7 separate regions of the Homo sapiens genome follow, and regions 1, 2, 4, 5, 6 and 7 are each linked to region 3. The links are contacts of gene promoters, found by promoter capture Hi-C in blood cells and fetal thymus (Javierre and others, 2016). All regions are on one chromosome and are shown on one strand. Each heading gives the region's core, a stretch centred on a gene start or on the middle of the fragment in contact. The rest is flanking DNA. Distances are from core to core; before and after follow the strand shown.

Evidence for each region. The method cuts DNA at HindIII sites, captures the fragments that hold promoters and counts their contacts. A CHiCAGO score of 5 or more calls a contact.
Region 1: a fragment that was not itself captured here is called in contact with the fragment with the promoter of DUSP11 in region 3 in 1 of 17 cell types (naive CD8 T cells); the score reaches 6.1 in naive CD8 T cells.
Region 2: a fragment that was not itself captured here is called in contact with the fragment with the promoter of DUSP11 in region 3 in 8 of 17 cell types (fetal thymus, non-activated CD4 T cells, activated CD4 T cells and 5 more); the score reaches 16.2 in fetal thymus.
Region 4: a fragment that was not itself captured here is called in contact with the fragment with the promoter of DUSP11 in region 3 in 4 of 17 cell types (neutrophils, naive CD8 T cells, total CD8 T cells and 1 more); the score reaches 7.4 in neutrophils.
Region 5: a contact is called between a fragment that was not itself captured here and the fragment with the promoter of DUSP11 in region 3, in 3 of 17 cell types (neutrophils, fetal thymus and non-activated CD4 T cells). The highest score is 8.5, in neutrophils.
Region 6: a fragment that was not itself captured here is called in contact with the fragment with the promoter of DUSP11 in region 3 in 1 of 17 cell types (erythroblasts); the score reaches 8.1 in erythroblasts.
Region 7: a contact is called between a fragment that was not itself captured here and the fragment with the promoter of DUSP11 in region 3, in 1 of 17 cell types (fetal thymus). The highest score is 8.0, in fetal thymus.

Annotation. Positions count from the first base shown.
Region 1 is chr2:74,489,237-74,491,936 of GRCh38, forward strand. It overlaps TTC31 (tetratricopeptide repeat domain 31), which reads left to right. Exons shown (of 13, transcript NM_022492.6): 3 at 789-891; 4 at 1,008-1,237; 5 at 1,420-1,503; 6 at 1,892-1,948; 7 at 2,059-2,139; 8 at 2,245-2,436. Among named protein-coding and RNA genes, the nearest start is that of TTC31, 7.5 kb to the left of the region's middle. The HindIII fragment of the contact is 4,043 bases long and covers 1-2,700 here.
Region 2 is chr2:74,531,206-74,533,934 of GRCh38, forward strand. It overlaps HTRA2 (HtrA serine peptidase 2), which reads left to right. Exons shown (of 8, transcript NM_013247.5): 4 at 134-166; 5 at 392-497; 6 at 651-720; 7 at 1,414-1,509; 8 at 1,615-2,114. The coding sequence ends at 1,780. LOXL3 (lysyl oxidase like 3) reads right to left here. Exons shown (of 14, transcript NM_032603.5): 13 at 2,677-2,729; 14 at 1,053-2,474. The coding sequence ends at 2,401. Among named protein-coding and RNA genes, the nearest start is that of HTRA2, 2.6 kb to the left of the region's middle. The HindIII fragment of the contact is 295 bases long and covers 1,150-1,444 here.
Region 3 is chr2:73,778,730-73,781,462 of GRCh38, forward strand. DUSP11 (dual specificity phosphatase 11) reads right to left here and starts at 1,374. Exons shown (of 9, transcript NM_003584.3): 1 at 1,145-1,374. The coding sequence starts at 1,245. RefSeq lists enhancers at 866-1,015, 1,146-1,195, 1,276-1,345. The HindIII fragment of the contact is 6,659 bases long and covers 1,042-2,733 here.
Region 4 is chr2:74,384,392-74,387,091 of GRCh38, forward strand. DCTN1-AS1 (DCTN1 antisense RNA 1) reads left to right here and starts at 1,112. Exons shown (of 3, transcript NR_158174.1): 1 at 1,112-1,359. It also overlaps a transcript of DCTN1 not described here. The HindIII fragment of the contact is 1,624 bases long and covers 579-2,202 here.
Region 5 is chr2:74,403,252-74,405,951 of GRCh38, forward strand. No RefSeq gene overlaps it. Among named protein-coding and RNA genes, the nearest start is that of C2orf81, 17 kb to the right of the region's middle. The HindIII fragment of the contact is 9,534 bases long and covers 1-2,700 here.
Region 6 is chr2:74,361,217-74,363,916 of GRCh38, forward strand. It overlaps DCTN1 (dynactin subunit 1), which reads right to left. Exons shown (of 32, transcript NM_004082.5): 27 at 2,398-2,412; 28 at 2,078-2,211; 29 at 1,778-1,961; 30 at 1,434-1,513; 31 at 836-925; 32 at 1-420. The coding sequence ends at 283. Among named protein-coding and RNA genes, the nearest start is that of DCTN1, 18 kb to the right of the region's middle. The HindIII fragment of the contact is 2,943 bases long and covers 1-2,700 here.
Region 7 is chr2:74,553,637-74,556,336 of GRCh38, forward strand. LOXL3 (lysyl oxidase like 3) reads right to left here and starts at 306. Exons shown (of 14, transcript NM_032603.5): 1 at 240-306. DOK1 (docking protein 1) reads left to right here and starts at 1,084. Exons shown (of 5, transcript NM_001381.5): 1 at 1,084-1,178; 2 at 1,518-1,817; 3 at 1,939-2,032; 4 at 2,258-2,442; 5 at 2,672-2,700. The coding sequence starts at 1,119. RefSeq lists a silencer at 426-1,175 and enhancers at 1,184-1,701, 1,326-1,385. The HindIII fragment of the contact is 1,450 bases long and covers 529-1,978 here.

The DNA.
Region 1 (2,700 bases), core at 17-2,516, 710 kb after region 3:
AGGGTCTGGGAAGGCTTTGAAGGGAGATAGAATTTGAACTGGACCTTGAAGGTGAGGCAAGATGTGAGAAAGAAGCTCAAGAGTTAGGAGGGATTGGAGAGCAGCTGGGGGAAGGCCCCAAGGCTGGAGGGAGCCTGGTGGTGGGAGGGAGGACAGCAGTGAAGCAGGGGAGGATTAAAAGGAGGGCTGGAAAGGTCAGCCTGGGAGCCTTTTGGAAGGCTCTGAATCGTAGGCTGAGGAATTAGGTTCAACTCTGCCTATGGCCTTGGCAGTGGGGGATTATTGGATGTCCCTGAGTAGGGAAGTAATTTCTTAGAGCTTAGTTTTGTGGAGAAACAGATGAGGTGCAGAGGAGCGGCCAGCCAGGAGCTGCTGTACTTGTTTAGGTGTGAGCTAGCCTCAGGGTGGGTTATGTGGAGCTGTTCATACTGCAGATATGACAGGGGGCCTAGCTGGAAGAGCAGGTGGGAGGGCTTCATTCCAGGGGCCTCAGTGTGGCTAACTCAGGTTGAGGAGAGAAGATCCTGGATGGTAGAGGAGGCCAGGTTGAATACCATACTCAACCCTTGGGAAGGCAGGAAAGCAGCGAGGGGAGGTGATTCACTACAATAGCTGGGGGCAGCAGATTTTGCGGTGCTGAGGAGGGAGAGGTCAGAGCCAGTGAGAGTCTCTGGGCTGGATAGCTGGTTGGTGGCTGCCATGGTGGAGAGATCAAGCCAGCGAAGCCCTTGCTCTCTCCAGGAACTGCCCCCAACACCAGCCTCCCCTCCCCTCCCCTCCCCTCCCAGGACATAGTGGATTTTCTTCGACGGCTTGTGGAGAGTGATCCCCAGGGCCTGCACCGGATCCATGTGGATGGGAGCAGCGGGCGGCTGCAGCTGTGGCACCATGGTGGGGAGTGCAGGGACCGGGCCCAGGGATCGAGGCTGGTACCCTGGGAGGGCTGACCCTCAGATGCACCCCGCTCTCATGTCCTTTCTTTCCTGTCTCTTTCTCCCTCCTGACAGATTACCTCCTGGGCCACTTGGATGATGAAGGGAAATCAACTGGACAGAGTGACAGGGGCAAGGGGGCTGAGGGACTGGGCACCTACTGTGGTCTCCGCAAGTCCTTCCTGTATCCTCCCCAAGAGTCTGAGCCCTGCCCTCAAAGCCCCTCTGCCTCTGCCACCTTCCCCAGTGTCTCAGACAGCCTGCTTCAGGTGGCCATGCCCCAGAAGCTCCTGGTGACAGAAGAGGTGAGATTCTCAGGAGAGGGCTTTGCCGTCCCCCAGGGTTCTTTCAATCCCTGTATCCCCATCCCTATATTCTCCCCTAATTGGTACCTTTCAAGATCCTTCTATACTGCCTGCCCCCTTTCATGTTTGCTCTCCATTTCCCTGTTTCTCTCTTTTTCTGTCACCTGCCCTTCGTCCTTCAGGAAGCCAATCGCCTGGCTGAGGAGCTGGTGGCTGAGGAGGAGCGCATGAAACAGAAAGCAGAGAAAAAGCGACTCAAGAAGAAGGTGGCTAGAGCATGGCTGGAGGGTGCAGGGGAGCCAAAGGGATTTGGGAGAGGGAAAGAGGAAACTTTGTGGGAACAGGAGAGAGCTCAAGATGGCCTGCAGTGGACTCTCTTGCCAGGAGGACACAAGGGGCCCAGGGACTGGGGGGTCTCTCACAGGCCATCTGGTGCAGTGGTTCTGGAATCCTACTGTGCTGCCTAGGTAGGAATCTGCCTCCTTACATGAGGCCTCTTGCTGGTGCCTCTCTTGTCTGCTTTTTCACCTGCAAAATGAGGATAATAATGATGCCTGTCTCATAGAGCTGCAAAGATGGAATGCGAAATCTTAGCCCAGCACACGACATACAGTAAGTGTTCAAAATACATCATTGTTACCATTACTATTGCAGCGTCAAAAGGAACGGAAGCGACAGGAGCGTTTGGAGCAGTACTGTGGGGAGCCCAAGGTGAGTATCTAGGGCAGGTACTAAGAGCACCAAGTGCCAGGAAGGTGAGGGCCAAGAAAGCAGGCAGCTCAAGGTGATCCCAACTCTGTACCTGTCTATCTTTCTTCCAGGCCAGCACTACCTCAGATGGAGATGAGAGCCCCCCATCCAGCCCTGGAAACCCAGTTCAGGGACAGTGTGGTGAAGAAGAGGTGAGAGCCCCTTTTTTCCCTTCTTGGTCTCTGCTCATTTTCCTCCTCCTCCTCCAGAATGTACTTCATCCCCACCCCCTCCCTAACTTTCCATTTTGTTCACAGGACTCACTGGATCTATCTAGCACTTTTGTGTCTCTGGCTTTGCGCAAGGTTGGGGATTGGCCCCTCAGTGCCCGCAGAGAGAAGGGACTGAACCAGGAGCCCCAAGGCAGGGGTCTGGCCCTCCAGAAGATGGGTCAAGAGGAAGAGAGCCCTCCAAGAGAGGAGAGGCCCCAGCAGAGTCCAAAGGTACAGGTGAGGTGGCTGAAGAACCTTATTCAGCTGGAACCGTGGAAGGGGCACAAGGAGCTGCTGGGGAGGCACAGGGTCTAAGGATTGACACAGGGTCCAGTGGGAGTTCTCTGGCTCTAGGGTCAAGAGACCTACAGTCAGGCCCCATCACTGTCACCATGACCCCGGGTGGTTTCCTGTCTAGGAAGATAGGGCTGATACCATCTTGTAGGGCTGTCATGAGGATTACATGAGTTGGGTAATGCTAATTGCAGTGTTACCTGTTTA
Region 2 (2,729 bases), core at 47-2,546, 750 kb after region 3:
CTTAGGCTGCAAAAATGTGGCCACTTATTCATGGGCTGAGAAAGAAGAGAATTTGGAGAAAGTACCTACATCCTGGTATGCCCCCAGACTTAGAATCCCCAGATCTCTTTCATGTTTTCTCCTTGTCCTACAGTTTGGAAACTCTGGAGGTCCCCTGGTTAACCTGGTGAGTGAGACATCCTTCCTTCCAAGAATCCCTGCCCCAGGTCAGTGTGGGAAGGGTAGGTTTCCCCTAATTCAAGGATGTTTGGTCAAGTTTCTGAGCAGTTCTTTGTTGGCTATCTCTCAATATCCAACCAGATCTCCCCAACACTTGCTGGTACTTTTGTTCGGGTGCCCCCATCCCCTACTATTTGTTTAGGCTAGGGAACTGGGGGCTGTATCCCTGCAGGATGGGGAGGTGATTGGAGTGAACACCATGAAGGTCACAGCTGGAATCTCCTTTGCCATCCCTTCTGATCGTCTTCGAGAGTTTCTGCATCGTGGGGAAAAGAAGAGTGAGCCTGCCTTATGGGGAAACGGGTTCCTTTAATGTGGTGGAAATAGGGGAAGGGCATTCAGTGGGACTTCCTGGAGGGTGGTCTACTGGGAGAAGAGGGCAGGGAAGGAAGGATGTAGCTGGGTGGGGCTCATTTGTCCCTCTGTCACAGATTCCTCCTCCGGAATCAGTGGGTCCCAGCGGCGCTACATTGGGGTGATGATGCTGACCCTGAGTCCCAGGTATGAGCTTTAGGGACAGTGACATGTAATGTGACCAGTGTAATCAGAGGGGGGCACCTCTATTGAGCTTTGTTCTCATTTCTGTCTTTATCTAAGATGAACTGTGTCACACTTGAAATAATCACAAGAGCTGTCTCCCTTCATCATCTTGACTTTCTTATCCCACTCCACTTTGTACACCTGTCACCAGATTGATTTCATCCTGTTACTGCTTTGATTTCAAGCCTTCAATCCATTAACTTGGCATTTAAGGGCCATTTTCCATCTGTCTGTAAATCAACTTTCTAGACCTGGCTGTAATACCTTCCTATATGAATACTCAGCCAACCTGATTTCCTACTCCCATGTTTTTTATTTATGCTGTTCTTGTTTTATATGGTTAATATCAGATCCATCCTTTTAGGCTCAACTTAAGTTCTTTCCCCTTAAAGCTTCTCTTAGTATTCTAGAATGACATTAGTGCTATTGATTTAACACTGTTTGTCATTTGGTGCCCTCATGTGGTGTACATCTTTTATGTACATGTTGCACTTTATTGCTAGAAGACAGAAAGTGAGTTGCCATTGTATTTTGTAGTACCTAGCCCATGTCCTGTCCATATATTTATCAATGTGTTGATGAGAGACTTGAGGTGGAACTCAGGATGGGGAGAATGCCTGGGTTTGGCTAATAGGGTGATCTGTGTACTTTCAGCATCCTTGCTGAACTACAGCTTCGAGAACCAAGCTTTCCCGATGTTCAGCATGGTGTACTCATCCATAAAGTCATCCTGGGCTCCCCTGCACACCGGTGAGGGAGAGGCTGCAGTGTGATATGGGGATGGGCAAGGTGTGCATGTGTCCTTGAACTAGGCTTTGTACTCCTTCCTTTCTCTCTGTCCATTTTTCTCTATAGGGCTGGTCTGCGGCCTGGTGATGTGATTTTGGCCATTGGGGAGCAGATGGTACAAAATGCTGAAGATGTTTATGAAGCTGTTCGAACCCAATCCCAGTTGGCAGTGCAGATCCGGCGGGGACGAGAAACACTGACCTTATATGTGACCCCTGAGGTCACAGAATGAATAGATCACCAAGAGTATGAGGCTCCTGCTCTGATTTCCTCCTTGCCTTTCTGGCTGAGGTTCTGAGGGCACCGAGACAGAGGGTTAAATGAACCAGTGGGGGCAGGTCCCTCCAACCACCAGCACTGACTCCTGGGCTCTGAAGAATCACAGAAACACTTTTTATATAAAATAAAATTATACCTAGCAACATATTATAGTAAAAAATGAGGTGGGAGGGCTGGATCTTTTCCCCCACCAAAAGGCTAGAGGTAAAGCTGTATCCCCCTAAACTTAGGGGAGATACTGGAGCTGACCATCCTGACCTCCTATTAAAGAAAATGAGCTGCTGCCATCTTTTGTGGGCAGTTAGTCAGGTGCTGCTCTTTGTGGTGTGGTGGGCTCTGGTCTGTTCTGCTCGGTGCTGGGCCTGGGAGCAAAGATTCCCATGCTTGGCTACAGATACTGACAGCTGGCCTCTGAAGGAGGGTGAAAACTTCTGCTTGACAGTTCCACATCCATAGTGCATGGTCTGATGAGTGCGGTTGCTGACATGGGTTTCTTGGTAAGCTCCTGAGGTAATGGCAGCCTCAGACCCCTGCCATTAGGGGCCAGTGGTGGTTTGCAGAGGGCAGTGGCACTTAGATAATCTGGTTGCTGGTCTGGCCAGGGTAGCGTTCAAACCTCCTGTTGGCCTCTTCACTGAAGGCATCACCTGCAGAGTGGACAGGCAATTTGGGAGGCGCCCTGCACAGAGGGAGGGAGATAGATGCACTGTGGAGAAGGGTGGGTAGAAGTGGAGGGACTGAGAGCTCTACAGGAAGGTGGGAAGATGGAGAAACAAGCTATGGAAAAGAGAATGAACGTCTTTCCCTCCCATCCCCTAATCTTCCTGGGTTGCTCTTCCCATCAAATACCAATGTGGCAGTTGTGCACCCAGATTCTATGTCCATCATATTTGCAGTTACAT
Region 3 (2,733 bases), core at 124-2,623:
TATTTCACTTCACGCTTTTAGTTTTCATACGACTGATGCCATAAAGTTCAATTAGTAGGAAACTTCAAGTTCATATTTTAAGAGAAAACCTGCTAGAAGAGGGACTGTGAACTTCACTTAATAATGCTAGGAACTGGCCGGGCGCGGTGGCTCACGTCTGTTAATCCCGGCAATTTGGGAGGCTGAGGCAGGTGGATCACCTGAGGTCAGGAGTTCGAGACCAGCCTGACCCACATGGTGAAACCCCATCTCTACTAAAAATACAAAAAAAATTAGCCGGGTGTGGTGGCGGGCGCCTGTAATCCCAGCAACTTGGGCGGCTGAGGGAGGAGAATCGCTTGAATCCGGGAGGCGGAGGTTGCAGTGAGCCGAGATTGGACCATTGCACTCCAGCCTGGCGGAGAAGAGCAAAAATCCATCCCAAAAACAAAAACAAAAAAACGGATTGGAAGAAAACAAACAGGAGATTCACTAATTAGAACCCCACTGCAATAAGTCAGGCAAGACCTGTATTAGGGTACTGACAGAAAGTGACAGTCAAAAGATAGTAGATAAAATGAAGAGGATTTATTGAGGTATGAGATGGTGGAGGATGGTCTCAAGGAGTAAAAACAGTTCAATGCACCTACGTGCAAAGTCTCAAAATTAATCATTTGTACGTATAAAGGAGTTATCTTTCAAATGAGGCCTGTTAGGAAGTAACAAAGTATGCTCTTTGTGATTTCTGGAAACAATACAAACCAACTTTCCATGTGAGATCTCAGGGCGCTACTACTGCTGGGTTCCTAACTCAAACCATTACACTTTCCGTGCCAACGTAACAAGGAATTGAGGAGGTTCCATTTTGGGAATTAAGGAGTGTCCCCAACAGTAACAGTCCCACCTTAAAGCAATCCTTCCGTATTTTACCTAAGAGCAATGGCCAGAACCTCCCTTTTACAAGAATATGGAGAAATCACAGGACATCACAGACATCGCCCCTTTCAGCTACAGCGGGTGGCGCAGAGGGTCAAAGCCTCAAAGCAAGCGGCGGACAAGTCAAGCTTGCGATGGCAACGGCGAGAGGCAGAGACCACAAACGATGAAGCCCAGACCCAGAAGCCACGAGCTGGAAAGGCCACGCCAAGGGACCAAGACATACTACCTTTCGGGGATGTGGTTTCCGCCCTTCTTCTTGGCTGAGGAGCGTCCTGAAAAGTCGCGTCTCCGGCCCCAGCCACTGCGGGGATGATGCCACTGGCTCATGTGGGTCCCAAGAAGCCGCCCACCCAATGCCAAGTCGGCCAAAAGCGCCAGTCCGGCGCCCTCAATGCCAGGATAAGACCCTAAACAGGAAAAGACTCGGCAGCCACCTACGCCGCGCTCCAGCGTCTCGCTATTGCGCATGTGCCACCGCCGGTCGTGATGGCGTAGCCACGCTGGCTTACTGAGACTCCTGATCTGTAAACAGGACTTTGGTGGCTACAGCGCCCTCTTTAGCCAGAGGCCAGTAGCACAGGTCAATAAGGGCGTGTATGCACCCTTCAGAATTCAAACAGTGAGGCACAGGGAAGTCCCTCTGCCCGATCCGCCCCACGCCCCGGTTCCTTGTGTGTTCTTCTAGATATTTACCAGCGCTTACATTCACATTTTGCATATTTTGTATACATATTTACTTTCACATATATGTATATCCTCTATTTTTATACAAAAGGAGTAACTGTACATATTCTACAGTATACCTTAAACACTGATTATCCCAGTCAATTTATGCATACATAGATTCTATTTTTAATGGCTATAGGCAATTTACTTGCTTATGAGTAACATAATTAAAAGTACCATAACGTATTTAGCCAGTTCAATATTAATGGACCTTTAGTTGTTTTCAGGTTCTTTTCAAATCTTGTTACAGACAATGCTGCAATGTGAACATCCTTATACATATATACAACTATATCTAAATTCCTAGAAGTAGAATGTCTGGAATGAAACACATACAAACTTAAAATTTGGAAAGATACTACCTAATTACCCTCCAAAAATAATGTAGAAACATACACTCCCATCAAAGCCAAACTTTTATTGGGTTCCTATCACATACCAGGTATCATGCTAGAGGTGGACAGAATGTATTTAAGTTTTAGCAAATACAAAAAATAACTGAGAGTGGAGCTCAAGTCCAAGGTTTCCACACAGTCTCAAGCATAAAGATCTGTACCCGTTAGAAAAACGTTCAATTCTGCTAAAAGTGGAACTACAAAGGACAGCATACCCTATAGCAGCTTTGAAAATAGAATAGAGTACTAAATTCCAGATTAAACTGTAAGTAATTATGATTGCAGACTTTTTTTTTTTTTTTTTGAGACCCAGTCTCACTCTGCCACCAGGCTGGAGTGCAGTGGTGCCATCTCAGCTCACTGCAACCTCCGCCTCCCGGGTTCAAGCAATTCTCCCTGCCTCAACCTCCTGAGTAGCTGGGACTACAGGTGCATGCCACGACTCCCAGCCAATTTTTTGTATTTTAGTAGAGACAGGGTTTCTCCATGTTGGCCAGGATGGTCTCGATGTCTTGACCTCATGATCAGCACTCCTCGACCTCCGAAAGTGCTGGGATTACAGGCTTGAGCCACCGCACCTGGCCAATGGCAGATTTTTGAAAGTAATTTTTACTTCTTAGTTTCTAATTTATGAAAGTAACTTACATATATTTTTAGTAATCTTTGCAACCATTTCAGAGCTGGGTAAACCAAG
Region 4 (2,700 bases), core at 141-2,640, 610 kb after region 3:
CATAGGACAATCCTGGGTTAATGTTACCCCAGCCAGGGAGGAGACAGACACCTCTTGGATTTCTAATCCATTTTCCTCTCCAATGATATTAAATACCACTAAAATATCTAGAAAAATGAGAAGAGAGGAGGGGAAAAATCTCTGTGTCTGATAAATAATAATCTCTGTGTCTGCCAATAGTCTTAGAGAAATTTCAGGAAATTATAGGAAAATAAGATTTTGGAGAATGAAAAAGGAGAAAGTGAGGAGGAAAAGCCTCTTTTCCACCTCTACCATTTCTCCCCTGTCTGAACCATTTCTACCTTGTTTTTACTGGCACCCCAGCATCCTTTGATACCTTGATCTCCTCTTGTCTCACCTTATCAAACCTTGATCCTGGGCTAACCCAACTGTCTGCTTTCCCTGCTTTCCCACTCCTAGAGGAGCTTGTCTGAAACCCAGGCAGTCTGACAGCAAGGCAAAACTATACATCTCTGAAAGCACTAGTAAGGAAGAGATAAACGTGGACCTAAGTCCTTCAGGAGTCAGAAAGGAAAAGGTCTGCTTACTGAGTGGTAAATGGAGGCTGGGAGACTGGAAGCTTGGAAAGCTGGATTCCAGATATTCACAGGACCCCAGAAGACAACGTACACAGAGCTTTTTGTTCCTAGGTCCTACTCAGTATCTGCCTTGCGGATTTCATAGATAAGGCCTACACACTCAACGGACTTCCTTCCCTTCTCCAGCTCCTCATTACCCTAAAAAAACGTCTACAAACCCACTCCCACTCTGAATGCAGCTCTACTCCATCTCAAAATGTCCCCTTTCCCCAGAAATATCCAGTGACTTCCAGGCCCACCTCCAAGGGCCCAGACCTCTAAAAGTCAAGAAGAAAAGCTATGCTATATGCTTCACTTATCTTCAATATAGGAACTTCTGCAAGAAGGCAAGAGGCACTCAGCCCTGCACTCAAGAACCTCAATCCTCTCAGTGGTATCAGAAGTCCTACTTAGGCTGTTCGAAGTTCCTGCTGATTCCTCCCCCTGAATCAACCAGCAAGTTCCTGGCACTAGGACCCTGTAGACAGGGAACCCTGAGCCTGCGCTCTAAAGAGAGAGATGCACCATTTCACAACTTCAGCAAAAGCCAAAGCAGCCAACAAAGCCACAGCCCTATCGGCTGTACTGGGCTCTGCCTTTTGGGCAGCTCGCCGGCCACTCCCCAAAAGCAGAGCATTCCATCCTTTCTCTTTTTAAACCCACGTCATCATCTGATCATAATGGAAATCAATCTCCTCAAACCACCATGCAAAGGCGTATCCATGGCAACCTCAAAAGGAAGGACACAGAGATGATGCTTCAGTGGCTGCAGCAGGAAAAGGTAAGTCCGTTTCTCTTCCATCCACGCCATCCCATCACTCTCTCCTTTCACTCAAGTCAGGTATACAGCTTACCTACAAATTGTATCTGTCACACAAACTGAGAAAACACATAAGGTGAGTTAATAATCATTATGTTATTATATAAGGTTTTAGATCTGCCTGTCTCTCTGCCAAGAAAAAATTCTCCTTTTCTAGGTGATAGGAACAGGGACAAGGTCTCTCTTCTTATTCACCTCTCAGATGACACAATCTCAGCCCACAATACCTGACAAATCACTATCGGTCACTTGTCTTTCTAGTCAGGATGCTGGAAAAATCACTCAAGAATATCCGAGTTTCCCTATGTAGTTGTCAAAAGCTGACAGCAACAGTGATCCCACTGTCCTGCCCCCTCCATGCCACCATCATGCCCACAAACTGGCATGGTAAGATTCCCTCCTTAGCAACCCTAGACTCTAGGCTCTCAAGGTTCAGAAACCGGGAGTTGGGATTAAATTTCTGTCTTCTCTGATGCCTCAGGAAAAGGAATCCATTTCTGCAGACGTAAGAGATTCATCAAATACAAGCGCTACTAATCCTCTATGCCTCAATTTCCTCTTCTGGAAGAAAGGGATAATAACAATAACTTTCTAACAGGATTGTTGTAAAAATCACATGAGAATGCCTGAAAAGCACTTAGAACAGTGCCTTGTATAAAGCACTCAATAAATGTCAGCCATTATTATTATGAGAAAGATGAAGGGGAGGCTTATAGTGTAGGATTTCAGTTCAGAGGGTACTCAACACTCTTGGAGCTTATTTCAGTTCCACTGTCTTCCTCTTTCCTCTTAACAGTTATTTCAAGCTTCCTTTACATTTTCAAGTCCTTACTCCCACCCAAGCCAACACCAGCATTCCCACCTCTCAGCAGATAACCTTGCTGAAAAAGAAAACTGGCCCTATTAGGTAAGAATTTCTTTGAAAATTTAGATATATCTGCATGCATATGTCATTATCTCTTTCTTCCTAAATTCCTTCCTTTCTTCCAACATTCCTCTTTAAAGAAAATGGTATCCCCTTCTTTTCAGGGCCCACCCCTTCCCCTCTCCTCTGAGGACTTGATTTAGCAATCGTCTTTTCTCTTGTGTCTTCATTGCACCCTGTCTACTGGATCTTACATGGCATCAGAAAACCCATAAACAAGACTTCCATTCTAGGAAAAACAAGTCCCTGCTACCTCTTCCACAAGCTGCCACCATTCTGTATTCTTCCTTTCTCTGCTGAACTACTCAAAGTGAGTACACATTCTCTATCTTCACTTCCCATCTACTTCTCGATCCATTGCTATCTGGCTCCATCCC
Region 5 (2,700 bases), core at 189-2,688, 620 kb after region 3:
TACTCGGGAGGCTGAGGCAGGAGAATGGCGTGAACCCGGGAGGCGGAGCTTGCAGTGAGCCGAGATCGCGCCACTGCCCTTCAGCCTGGGCGACAGAGCGAGACTCCGTCTCAAAACAAACAAACAAAAAAACAAAACAAAACAAAAAAACTGTCAACCTATAATTCCTTAGCCAGTAGCAAACTGATACCCCAACATTAAGGTGAAATAAATACATCCTCCAACAAATAAAACTGAGGAAGTTTATTATATTAGATCTTATATTAGTTTTCTATTGCTACATAACAAATTACTATAAATTCAGTGGGTGAAGCAACATAGGTCAGGCATGATGGCTCATGCCTGTGATCCCACCACTTTGGAGGCCAAGGCAAGAGGATCCTGTGAGGCCAGCAATTTGAGACCAGCCTGGGCAACATAACAAGAATCCCCATCTCTATAAAAGAAAAAAAAATTTAATTCTAACTCGATTACCTCTGAAAAAATAAAAAATAAAAAATAATAATTAGCCAGAGTGGTGGCATGCTCCTGTAGTCCCAGTTACTTGGGAGGCAGAGAGGCAGAAGGATTGCTTGAGCCAGGAGTGTGAGGTTGCTGTGAGCTGTGATAGTGCCACTGCATTCCAGCTTGGGTGACAGAGAGAGAGCCTGTCTCTAAAAAATATAATAAATATGTTTATTTTTTAAAAAAACACATTTATTATCTCACAGTTTCTGTGGGTCGGGAGTCTGGGTACATGTTTGCTGGGTCCTCCACTCAGGAGGTCACCAGGCTGAAATCAAGAAGTCATCCAGGGTTGAAAGCTCATTGAAGTTCAGGGTCCTCTTTCAAGCTCACTGGTTATTGGCAGAATTCAATTTGTTGTGACTATAGAACTGAGGCCTGGCTCCCAGAGGCCATCTGCCATCCCTGCCATGTGGCCCTCTCCACAGTGTAGCAATTTGCTTCTTTAAGGTAAAGGAGAGAATCTTTCTAACTTCTGTAAAGGCTTGAAGCCTTTTAAAGGGCTCACTTCATTAAGTCAGGTCCACCCAAAATAATCACCAATTTGATTAACTGATTAGAGACTTTAACTACATCAGAAAAATCCCTTATGTCAGGTAAATAACGTAATCACAGGAGAGAAATCCCATCATATTCACGAGTTCTGCTCAGACTTAAGGGGAAGGGGGATTTTATAGGGTACATAAACAAAAGATGAGAACTTTGGAGGCCATCTTAGAATTCTGTCTACCACAAATCCTCACTAAAGTAACTTTCTTTTGAGAGAGAAAGAGAGGGTCTCACTCTGTCACCTAAGCTGGAGTGCAATGACGTGATCACAGCTCACTGCAGACTTGACCTCCTGGGCTCAGGTGATTCTCCCACCTCAGCCTCCTGAATAGCTGGGACTACAGGAACGTGCCACCACACTCGGCTAATTTTTGCATTTTTGAGAGACGGGGTTTCACCATGTTGCCCAGGCTGGTCTCAAACTCCTGTCCTCAAGCAATCCACCCGCTTCAGTCTCCCAAAGTGGTGGGATTACAGGCATGAGCCACTAAGCCTGGCCTAAAGTAACTTCTAAAGATGTACTTCAGGTAGAAGGAAAATAACACAAGATGGAAGATCTGAGATACAAGAAAGAAGAGCAAGCAATATTAAGTATTAACATTAAACATATGAGCAAACCTATACAAGTATCACCTATTTAAAATAATATCTGATTTGTGGCCAGGCATGGTGGCTCACACCTGTAATCCCAGCACTTTGGGAGGCCAAGGTGGGCGGATCACCTGAGGTCAGGAGTTCGAGACCAGCCTCAGCATGGAGATACCCTGTCTCTACTAAAAATACAAAAAAAAAAAAAAAATTAGCCAGGCCTGGTGGTGCATGCCTGTAATCCCAGCTACTCGGGATTACTGAGGCAGGAGAATTGCGTGAACCTGGGAGGCGGAGGTTGCAGTGAGCTGAGATTGCGCCATTGCACTCCAGCCTGGGCAACAAGAGCGAAACTCAGTCTCAAAAAAAAAAAATAATAATAATAATAATAATATCTGATTTGTGAGATTAATAAAATAGTAGAATTAAAATATAGGGTTACAAAAATGTATAAATTCAAAGAGAATTATTAATGTTAAAGAACTCTAAAATCTATGAATTGTTTTAAAGAAGAATGAAGATATTGATTAAAGACATTAAGTTAAATATGTAGATTAAAAATTCTAGGCCGGGCGTGGTGGCTCATGCCTGTAATCCCAGCTACTCGGGAGGCTGAGGCAGGAGAATTGCTTGAGCCCGGGAGGCGGAGGTTGCAGTGAGCCTAGATCGCACCACTGCACTCCACCCTGGGCGACAGAGAGAGACTCTGTCTCAAAAAAAAAAAAAAAAGTACTCATAACAACAAAACTAGGCAGTTTCCACATAAATAAGGAAAAATACAGGCCAATCTCCTTTACTATTTTTTCTTTTTTCTATTTATTTATTTGGGCCAATCTCCTTTATGAACATAGTAAAAAGTTTTAAAAAAAATGAGCAGGCTGTTTAGCAATGCATAAAAAAGGTAACACTATTACAAAGTTGGGTTTATTCCAGAAATGTAAGGTTGTTTCAATACTAGAAAATCTATTAAAGTTTTCTAGAAAAAGAAATATAAGTTGGAATAGTTACAAAGGAAGAAATAAAACTGTGATTATTCCTGGATGATGTGATTTTCCATGT
Region 6 (2,700 bases), core at 80-2,579, 580 kb after region 3:
CCTTTGGTGGTGGGGTCTCAGCCTACCCCCCACAAGCCCTGAGGCCCCTCAGGAAGGAGGGAGCAGTTGAACAACAAATTATGGCAGAGGCCAGGGAATGGGAGTGGGGGAACCCGGGTCAAGGTGAAGGGGCAGGACGCTGAAAGGGTGGGAGTGAAGCTGAACGGGGCAGGAAGAGCTTAACCCACGTTTCTACCTGGGGGCTGGCTGAGGTGGCTGTGCATCGGGCAGAGCGGCACCAGAGGGCTGAGGGTCGAAGGGGACAGCAGGGGAAAGGAGTGCTTAGGAGATGAGGCGACTGTGAAGCTGGTGCAGCTGCTCCTGGGTCAGCACCAGCCGGTGTCGCTGTCCAAAACCAGCCGCACATGAGAAGGTCACTTTGCCCATGTAGACTGTGTCATCCTGCTGCTCCTCCTTGGCCTGGTGGTTGATGAGGAGAAAAAGACTCCAGGTCAGGGGCTCACTTGAGCTGTGGGCCACTGAAGGGGTCCCTGAGCACTGAGACCAAGGCAGCTCCTGGGTGACTAGGGCTTCTGAGATCCTGGGCTATTGTGACCACATTTTTCAAATAAGAATGGGGATACATAATCTGACAAGGGAGTTTTGAGGCCCTCCTGGTGTCAAAAGTCACGGAAGGTGTTTAGGTGCTAAAATATTGGAATTTCAAAGCACTGTAAGCACTTCTGAGTTACTTGTAAGTAAAATTTGGCCAGATAACCCAAGGTATGCAGTTGTTAGACCTGAGACTCCAAAGGCCTCCTCCAATTCTGGAGGAGAGGGGGGCCCGCCTGAGCTCTCCACACTGTCCCATCCTCCACCCCATGCTCCCCCTCACCCTGAGGAAGGCTGATGAAGGGAAGGTGGCAAAGTCAGTGGGTACTGTGGCTCCAGGGCGCTGAGATACTGTCTCCTTGAGGACCTCATCCTAGGGAAGGGGAGAGGAAGACAAGGGTTCATTTATGGGACCCCCACAGGCTAGCACAAGACCACGTGGTTTCACAGAGACACTAATACCAGGGGGGCAGGGACTTAGTCCTCTATATCAACATACTTTTGCTCTCATCTCCAACCCCATCCCCACACCAGCACTCCTCCTTACTTTGCAAGTCCTCATCCTGTAAGGCCCAACTCACATTCTACCGCTCTTGGGAAGCCATGCCCAACCGTTCTACCCCACAATGATCTCAGCGCTGATGGAAGCTAAAGCCTGAACCAGTCACTCTAAAGATTACCCTAGCTTATCCATTTTGTTATGAGAATCTGTCTTCTGTTTGCACTGAGACAGTGAGCTTCCAAGGCAAGAACCCTGCCTTCCCTTCCATCTCCTCCCCAATTGCTGTCTAGCACAGGGCTGGGCTCAGAGGAACTCCACAAGTGCCTGGCTCCACCAGTTTATGCTGTGAAGTGAGCTCTGCCTGGCAAACTGAGCTGACCTTGAGCTTCTCGACGGTGTCACTCAGGGACTTAAGCTGAGCCACTTGCTCCATAAGTTGGGCCGACGGGCTCTTGGCAGCTGTGGGGAGAGAAAGCTGGTGAGGCCCACCAAGGCGCAGGCAGGCAGTTCTACTGGATTAAGGGTTAGGGGTGCAGGTATAAGACTCTCTAACAGAACAAGTACTTGAGAGAGAGTGGGTGAATCAAACAAACTGAACAGTGAAGCCAAAGAACACTGCTGGGAAGAGCTTCTGTGGTGGGGGAACCACCTGAGCAGGGGCTAAATCCCTGGGCCAAGTGGAGGGGGCAGTTTTATTCATCTTGGGGGTTGGCAGGTACATACCAGGGCTGGTGCGAGTGATGTCTACTACGTGCGTGTGTGTGCTCAATTGATTCAATGTCTCCAGCAGCTGGCTGGTCTTACGATACAGCGCTCCAGCTGGTAACTCACTGCCAGGGCCCTCATGGGATAGCTTTGCAACATGCAGAGGGGGCAGGGATGCCAAGGATGCCTTCATCTGGGCTCCCTGTGGATGAAAAAAGAAGGATAGTGGTAAGAGGTGCTAGGAGGCCCCTGTCATCTATCATCAATGGGGCAAATATGCTCCATCTCCCATCCCAGTCCTCCCCGTGGCTCCCTCACCTTGAGGATGCTGTTCTCATGCTGGAGCTGGGAGATGTGCAGCCTCATGGCAGAGATCTGCTGAAGCAGCAGTGGTGAGTCCTTCACCAGCCCTGGGCCTGGCACAGACCCTGGAGCCTGCCCAGGGATGGCTCCTGTGGGGACCATAAAAAATCTCATCAGCCCCAAGTGGAAAGGGTTGAAAATTGGGCTCCATTCCTACTCTTCCCCTTTCCTCATCCCCCCATCACCCATCTCCAGTCCTGGCTTCCCCCTCCACCCTGCTCCCTTAGCTCCAACTCCCACCAGCCTGGTAACCCCCGGCCAGAGTGGGTCTCTACCTCGCTGCTGTTCTTCTGTGCTCGGGATAGCCCATGGGGGAGCAGGAAAAGAGGAGAGAGGAGTTAGGTGATTTGGGGGTTACGGGGACACACCAGAGGAATCCTGGACACAACCTGCAGGAAAACCCTTTTCCTAATCATCATACTTTCTCTAACAAGACTCTCTGCCACCTATCTTTGGGGACGAGCAGATAAGTGTTAAAGAAAGACACCAAACAGGAGTGAGGCCACAAGACAGGGTACAATGTGTGAAGAACAGTGGCAAAGAGAGTGTGCACTGTACAAAGTACTTGGAACATGAGG
Region 7 (2,700 bases), core at 4-2,503, 770 kb after region 3:
TCCCGGAGGAGCCCCCTCCCTTAGGGCGCTCCTGGCGGCCCTGTTCGAACACCCGTAGCCCCCGCCTCCGGTATGTGCCTCCTCCGTGTACTCTGTCTCACTTGCCCTTTGACAAGAATCAAACTCTCAGTTGGGTGGCTTCCCCTCGACTCCATCCCACACCACCCGTTTTCCCTGGTCCCTCCACATCCTCTCCATCCCCTACTCATTCCCTCTGCGGTTAGCGTGACTCCCCCTACCTTGGCCGAGCAGGACCCTAAGGGCTGGGAGAAGAGTGCTGGTCCTGGAGATCAGTCCTAGGACTTCCAAAAAAAAAAAAAAATGCTCGGCCAGGGGAGACTGGACCCCCCTCTCTCCCCCTTCTCCGTTCGTCCCTCCCACATCCCCCTGAGCCCTCCCACATTCCGCCTTCTCCTTCCATTCCTCCCGGCCAGTTCCCTCCTCTCCTCCTCTGGGTCCTCCCTCCCCGTGGAGCTGGCCACTGCCGCGCCCCCTCCCCCTCCCTGGCCCTCCCGGCTCGTTCAATGAAGCTTTCTCTTCCCGCGGCATGGAGGCCAGGCCTCTGCGGTCAGGGAGCTGACATGCAAGCGGCGGCCGGGCGGCGGGGCGGCCCCGGTGGTGGCGGGAAGCGGTTCAACCCCAGCCCTCCCTCCGAGTCCCGGGCCAGCGGAGTCTAAACAGCCCGGCTCGGGCGGGGCTGGGGGCGGGCCCGGCCAGGGTAAATAAAGCCCCGGAGGCCCGTGTGGGTCTCTCCGGTGCCCGGGGCGCTTTCGGGGTGATGTCATGGCTTTCACTCTGACGTCACCTTGGGCATATGACGTCACGCGCAGCCACCACGCCCAGAGGCCAGGGCCCTCGCGCCAAAACCGAGGACTTTCGGTGGAGCCACTGGCGCGCCCCCACGACGGCGGGTAGGGGCCTGGGGTGCTGCAGCTCCCGGCTAATCCGGGGGTCTCCACCATTCCTTCTCGCTCCTCTCCCTCACCCCACCGCGACCCCCCCAGCGGCTGCCGGCGGGGGCCGGGGAGGGGCGGAAACTCCTCCAGGGAACCCGGCCCCGCCTCCCGCCCCGCCTCCCGCCGCAGGGCCAGGAAGCGCGGAAGGAACCGCCGGGGGCCATGGACGGAGCAGTGATGGAAGGGCCGCTTTTTTTGCAGAGTCAGCGCTTTGGGACCAAGGTAGTCTGGCGCATGGATGCCGAACCTTATCCGGGCTAGTAGTGGGTGAGAGAGCCCAGAAACAGGGAGAGGTGGGCAGCGGGCTGGAGAGCGGCGCCGGGAGTTGGAGAGCCTGTGACTTTCCCGTGAAGTTGCTTTGCACACTCCCGGGAAGCGTCTGTAGTCTAGGGGTTCTGGTCCTGGGGAGACGGAGTGGCATCGTCCTTGGGAAACTTCGCCCCCAACCCCGTTTGGAAGCCCCAGATCCCAAATCGACTTGCGCCGCAACCTCCTTCCCCGTCGGGACCCGGGCCGCCTGCGCACGCCACTCCCTCTCGAGCACTCTCTCTCTCTCCCTAGAGGTGGAGGAAGACCTGGGCCGTGCTCTACCCGGCCAGTCCCCACGGCGTAGCGCGGCTCGAGTTCTTTGACCATAAGGGGTCGAGCTCTGGGGGTGGCCGAGGGAGCTCGCGCCGCCTGGACTGCAAAGTGATCCGTCTGGCTGAGTGTGTGAGTGTGGCCCCCGTCACCGTGGAGACCCCCCCTGAGCCCGGCGCCACTGCCTTCCGCCTGGACACTGCTCAGCGCTCGCACCTGCTGGCGGCCGACGCGCCGTCCAGTGCAGCCTGGGTGCAGACGCTGTGCCGAAACGCCTTTCCGGTGAGGAGCTGCGGCGATGCGGGGTGGGGGCAGTTACAGAGGCAGAGAAATGGGGCTGCCTCAGACCGACCCCCGCTCCCCGCTGAGGAAATTACGGGTTTCTCGATGCTCTCTACTACAGAAAGGCAGCTGGACTCTGGCGCCTACCGATAACCCACCTAAGCTTTCTGCCCTGGAGATGCTGGAGAACTCCTTGTACAGCCCTACCTGGGAAGGTAGACGCCTCAGAAGCCCGGGCAGGGATGGAGTGAAGAGGAGGAGGGCCGAGGGCCTTTGGGAAGTGGGTGGATACCCAGGGGCCCATGGGGAAGTAAGAAGTAGGAAGGCCCTGAGATCTGGCTTCCGAGTGAGTGCTTGGACACTATGCTCATGAGTCCTCTGGGTCCCCACTGCTGCCCCCGTCCCTCCCCCGCAGCTGTCTAATCGTGTATGCCTTCCAGGATCCCAATTCTGGGTAACGGTGCAGAGGACTGAGGCCGCCGAGCGCTGTGGCCTGCATGGCTCCTACGTGCTGAGGGTGGAGGCTGAAAGGCTGACTCTCCTGACCGTGGGGGCCCAGAGTCAGATACTGGAGCCACTCCTGTCCTGGCCCTACACTCTGTTGCGTCGCTATGGCCGGGACAAGGTGCAGGGGCTGTCCGGGAGGGCTTCCTGGGTTGGGCAGCTGTGGGAGGGGTGGGGCAGGACAGAAAGTGGGAAGCTCTGACCTTTGGATCCCCCTTTCTTGCCTACCCGGTGACCCCGCGTCTGTTCGCAGGTGGTCTCTTCTTTGTAGATACCCTAACTAGTGCAGGCGTGTGACTCACTTCCTCTGATGGCTCCTGGTAATGTGTTTCCCCCTCTACCCTCCTTAGGTCATGTTCTCTTTCGAGGCCGGCCGCCG